2 separate regions of the Homo sapiens genome follow, and region 1 is linked to region 2. Evidence: promoter capture Hi-C in human tissues and cell types (Jung and others, 2019). All regions are on one chromosome and are shown on one strand. The core of a region is centred on a gene start or on the middle of the fragment in contact, and the rest is flanking DNA. Distances in the headings are between cores, read along the strand shown. Region 1 has its middle 5.3 kb from the start of GNAI1. Region 2 holds the start of MAGI2 (membrane associated guanylate kinase, WW and PDZ domain containing 2).

Region 1 (2,700 bases), core at 95-2,594, 680 kb before region 2:
AAGGAAAAAATATGGCCACCCTACTTTCTGACCACCACTTCAGACCTTTTCATCTCACCCTCTGTTACGTTATTACCATCAATTCTCCAGTCCCACAGAGACCTTCCATCTACCGACCACATGCCTTTTCTCTTTCTGTCGTGTGCTGCATGTGCTAATGTCTCTCCTTATGCAACTTATATCCCATCTTCCATCAGGACAATTATTCCTTTGCAATATCCTCAAAACACTCCCACCATTGTATTCAACAGGAAAAACTTCAAATCTGGTTAAATCTACTCTGCCTCTGTATGACTATACCTGTTCAGCTGAGCTTGAACAGAGGAAAACACGGTAATCAACAACTCCACATTTCTGTTTGCTCAGGCCAAATACTTGGAGTCATCCTAGATTCTTTCCTTTCCTGCAAGCCTTAGTTATTCAATCTGTTAGGAAATCCTACTAACTTTGTCTTCAAATATAACCAGAACTTGGCCAAATATCGCCATCTTTACTGATAGACACTGGAGATATTTATCAAATATTAAATAACCTGCTTTCTGCTCCCTCTACTTTTACCTTAATCGCTTACTGTTCCCACCTAGCAGCCAGATGCATCCTTTTAAAATGTCAGGGAGAACTATCCATTCACTTTCCATCTCACTTAGAGGAAAATCTCATCTAAAATCCTTATGATGGCATACAAGGACTTACCCTTTTTTTTAACCATGTGCCTCCCCATAGTATTTTCTGCCATTCTCCTTGTTGTCTGGTTCAGCCTCCCTGACCTCCAGACTGTTTGAACTTGCCAAACACACTCCATCATTGGCCTTGGCATTTATGCTCCCCCTGCCTGGAACACTCTTGAGCCAGGTATCTGCTTGACTCACTCCCTTATTTCATCCAAATCTCTGTTCAAATGTAATCTTATCAGAGAGATATCTTTCCTAACTACTCAACAACCACTCTTTATTCCCTTATTACACACTATAATTTCTTTATATCTCTTATCACATAGCATATATATATTTGTGATTATGTGTTTATTACCTGTCTTCCCTCCCTTGAATATAAATTCAAAAGAGCAGAGACTTTGTCTTTCTTGCTTACTGTTTTATGTCCAAGACCTAGAACAGTAAAACCCGCAGTAATTGAATAAAGAGGAGCCTCTGGATCTAAAGTATAAATCTAGCTTTCTAAATCCATTAATTCATTTATTCAACAATATTAACTGAAGACCTATTATAAGCCAGGTGGTGTTCTTAGCACTGGGAATAAGGTGATGAATAAGACAGATTACATTGACGAGGAGATGGTGGCAGTGGTAGGAGGGAGATATTAAATAAATACATAAGTGGATCAATTTAATTGGATAAAATAAAAATAGTTATAAATGCTATGAAAGTAATGAAGCAGTGTTTTACAAGAGAGTGCACCAGTTCAGGTCTTCTGAGAAGCAGACGTCAAGACAGAATTAGACAAACAAGAGATTGGGAGAAGATTCTGTGAAGGATAAGAGAGAGTAGGAGCAGGAGTAGCTGGGGAGCACTTCAAATGTGATGCAGCTCTGACACCTGGACAAGGAGAGAAGGAAAGAGGGAGTTTGGGACAGGTTATGGTGCAGCTTGAAGAAAGTCTTGGCCAACCTGATGAGATCTCTGTCCCACAACCCAGTCCTGAGTAGATATTGTTCATTAGGGAAGTCCCGTACTGGGCGGAAGTGGTGAAGTGGGCTGGGTCTAGTACCCCTATCTTACTCAGTCACAGGCTCAGGGCAGCCTTGGAAGAGAGAGCCTCAGGCCTAAGTGAGAACACTGCAATAGATCTAAAGATGGGGCAGTTGGAGGCTATCAGCCAACTATGCTCCCTTAAAGGGTCATCTGAATGGTGCACCTTCGTGGCCACAACAAGGAGTTACTCTGAGGGAAAGATAGGTACTTTCAACTGAACATTCATGAAGATTACTCTAATGAGGTGACAACGTTTGAGCAGAGAACCAGATGGCTAGAAGGAACCATGTTTGGAGGAAGAAGATTCCAGTGCCTTTCAATGTTGAATACAAGGGCAACAGCCCTAGGGTGGAATGGAAGTTGACTTGATCAAGGAACTCAAAGGTTAGTTTGACTGAAGTGGAGATGAGAGAGGTAGGAGATCAGGGAGGCGAGGGCTGCAAGGTAGGCAGGAACCAGATCCTATAGAGCTGTGCAGGCCATTCAGGTGGAGGGAATTTTTTCTACTTTGGAATTTGTAAACCTCAGTTTCTTCTTCAACACTGGAGATATTAGAAGTGTTGTGTTAAGTAAGGTAACTCATAACACAGTTCCAGGCACATCATGTGCTCATAATTATAGTGCATTTTTCTTTCTGTTTTGTCAGATCCAAGAATAAGAACAAAATAGGAAAAAGAAAGAGATTAAGGTGACAGGGATAATTGAGGACTTTGAGGGCCAGAAGGAGGGATGTAGATAAGATCCGAAGAGGAGAAATTGTCATCAAATTCATGATGTATCCGTTTGTATCTTGATGGGCAACAATAACATTTTGTACATATTTTGTGATTCCTATCTGCATTGTGTTTTCATGGTTCTCAAGCTTCCTATTTTTCTTTTTAAGAATAAACCTAAGAATGAGGACATGTCTTCCCCTGCCCCAGTGTTGTTTGCCCTTACCAAAATTTCAAATATGCTGTCCTAACAGAGGATCAAGCAAACCTTGGGCCAA
Region 2 (2,934 bases), core at 217-2,716:
CAGACATTAAGAATCCTACCTATTCAATGCTTTTCATCCTCCGCTTTAAAGAGATAAGTGGGTGCACAACTTTTTTTTTGCCTGAAACATATCATCTAAAAGTTAAGCAAATGAAATTCATTTACCAGTTACAGGAATCTTTTTCTTAAATCACTGTTAATGTCTCACAGGAAATTAGCTCTTCAGTGGAAATCAGCAGCCTCCCTGCATCCTTTTGCCCCTGTCCTCCCCTCTCTTGGATGCAAACCTGGCGAAAAGAAGGGAACACTGCTTGGGGTCAGCGAGCTGAGTTCCAGCTCCGAATGTACCATTTTCACCCTCGGGAGTCTTCTCCCCTTTCTCTGTGAGCAAAGGAGTGTTGGGCCAGACCGTCTTAAGGATTCTTCCCCAGGTACAAGCCGGACTCTGGCGGCTTTCCTGGGCAAGGGAGTGTCTCCGCCTTGTCTCTGCCGCAGGTCCCTGGTTAAATTGTCAATTTCTCTGCGGAGGCTGCTCACTGCATCCGCTCCCTCCACCCCTAGCCCTGTAGACCCCTTCTCTTTCCCCTACTTGGGAAAAGTGAAGCCCCTTATCCTTGGATAGCCTTTCACCAGACAACCGCAGCCGTCCGCTAAATTCCCCTACTGGCGGGACGCGCGGGCGGGGGCCTGCCCCGGGGAATGCGAGGCTGCTTCCCTTCTGCGTAATCAGGGTACGCAGCCTCCAGTTCTCTAACTTTCTCCTTCTCTAAGAGGGAATTTCGAGAACTTTAAGACAAATAAGTGACTATATAGATGAAGACATGAAACCTCTCTACACAGTGAACTCCCCCACGCTACAAGGCTCCCAGGGATCCCAGGCCTTCTCCCGCAATGCCCCGCCGGGTCCCCCGCCCCAACTCCTTCTCACGGCAGGATCCCGCGCCAGGACGCTCGCAGAGCCCGAGATGTGGCACCAGGCGCGCCACAAGTCCAGGTCCCGCTATTTCTGCTCCATCGGAGCCCAGGTCGGAGGGAGTCAGCGCGTCCTCCTCGCACAGGAGCCTGGCGCGCGGCTCGGTCGCACAGAGGCTGAAGAAAGGTCCGCACTGGGCTCGAGGCCCTTCCTGCCGGCCTCCCCACGCCGGGCCTAGGCTCCCCTCCTTCCCGGCTCCCGCCTCCTCCCGTAGGCTGCCAGGCGGACCCAGCCTGCCTCTCTCTCTGCCTTCACTACCGGGTCAAGCTGCGGAGGGAGGGAGGGAGGCAGCGGCGAAGCCCTCCGTGGCTCCCCACCCGGCGCGCGCGCCCCTCCTCCCCTGCCTCCTCCCGTCTGCCAGTACAGTAGAACTAGTACACACACACACACACACACACACGCACACGCACCCTGCCACTGCAGCTGCCATGGATATCAGCTAACAACACACACCCAGGCGCGCGCGCGCGTTCCCACTCGCACCACGCAGGAGTGGCCCCCGGCATCCCTACCCTCCTTCCCCACCCCCACCACACCCGCTCACCAGCTCGGCTACTGCTCGCTCCGGCTGCCGCCGCCGCCGCCGCCGACGCCACCACCACTGCTTCCTCTGCTGCGGGGCCACAGCCTTGAGTGTCATTCAAGGGACAGCACAACCTCATCCAAGCTCTCCTACCTCTGCCCAGCCGTCCCTCTCATCCTCCCCATTCCTCGTCCACACTCCATCCAAAGAAGAGGGAAAGCACCGAATAGAGGGGGGCGAAGGCAAAGTCTGCTGTTCTTCCCCCTGGGCCCCCTTGCTCCTCCATCCTCATTCTCTCACCACCAGCCCCCCTAACCCCAAGGAGCCCAGGAACTGAGGCGACTCGCCCCACTGCCATGTCCAAAAGCTTGAAAAAGAAAAGCCACTGGACTAGCAAAGTCCATGAGAGTGTCATTGGCAGGAACCCGGAGGGCCAGCTGGGCTTTGAACTGAAGGGGGGCGCCGAGAATGGACAGTTCCCCTACCTGGGGGAGGTGAAGCCCGGCAAGGTGGCCTATGAGAGCGGCAGCAAATTGGTGTCGGAGGAGCTGCTGCTGGAGGTGAACGAGACCCCCGTGGCGGGGCTCACCATCAGGGACGTGCTGGCCGTGATCAAACACTGCAAGGACCCCCTCCGGCTCAAGTGTGTCAAGCAAGGTGAGAGCAGCGGCTTGCTCAGTGTTTTGCCGGGCGGTGGGACCGCTCGGGGCGCAGGGCAATGAAAGGGTGGCCGCGCATGTTGAAGGGGGTGTGTTGCGCGATGATGGGGTGGGGGCCAGAGAGCACCCGCAGTGCAAGTGAGTTTCGCCGGGGATTCGACTTGGGGGCTAAAGGGAGGGGAGGGGCAGGTTGTGGTGTGGCGTGCAACTTTGTTTGCTCAGTTAGACCCTCCCCTTTGGAAGGTGCTCGGCCTGGTCTGACCTCCTCAGAGCTGCTGGGGCAAATTGAATGTGCGTCAGTGGCATCACCCGAAGCGGATGAAGAGCTTTTGGGGAAGGGAGGAAGGAAGAAAAGAAAGAAAGAATGGGAGGAAGGGAGGGAAAGAAGGAAGGAGCAACTTCAGGGTGCAGCGGCATCACCAGCGGGTCTGGGAAGAGAAGGTGGTGGGGTGAGCGGAGAACTGCGTCCAGCGTTTCTGGGGCTGGGCTGGGGGCGCCTGGGTCCCCAGCTGTCCCTTAGGGATCCGTGAGCCACCGCTGGCGAAGAAAAGAAGGGACAAATTGCTTTGGGCGCTTTGACGGGTCTTCTGTAACTTTTCCCCTTCTTCACTCCGTGTCCCCCTCCCCCGCTCACGGTCGTGTCATGTGGGCATCGCGCGTCACGTGCGTACTGACTAACCCCTGCGCTCACCCCTAGCCAGCCCGGGGGAGGAGGCTCCGGAAGAAGGCGCGGTGCTAGGAGCGCAGTCTAGTGCTGGGCGGGGGTCGGAGGAGATGAATGGTTGTCGGAGGAGATGAATGGTTGTCCGCATGGACTTT

The links. The method cuts DNA at HindIII sites, captures the fragments that hold promoters and counts their contacts. A contact is called where the count stands out against the background at its distance.
Region 1: a contact is called between a fragment that was not itself captured here and the fragment with the promoter of MAGI2 in region 2, in 1 of the 25 tissues and cell types used here (hippocampus).

The regions. Positions count from the first base shown.
Region 1 is chr7:80,128,135-80,130,834 of GRCh38, reverse strand. No RefSeq gene overlaps it. Among named protein-coding and RNA genes, the nearest start is that of GNAI1, 5.3 kb to the left of the region's middle. RefSeq lists an enhancer at 2,617-2,700. The HindIII fragment of the contact is 4,059 bases long and covers 1-2,700 here.
Region 2 is chr7:79,452,199-79,455,132 of GRCh38, reverse strand. MAGI2 (membrane associated guanylate kinase, WW and PDZ domain containing 2) reads left to right here and starts at 1,466. Exons shown (of 22, transcript NM_012301.4): 1 at 1,466-2,113. The coding sequence starts at 1,813. It overlaps MAGI2-AS3 (MAGI2 antisense RNA 3), which reads right to left and starts at 2,176. Exons shown (of 4, transcript NR_038346.1): 1 at 1,942-2,176; 2 at 1,478-1,546. RefSeq lists an enhancer at 2,726-2,934. The HindIII fragment of the contact is 8,431 bases long and covers 1-2,934 here.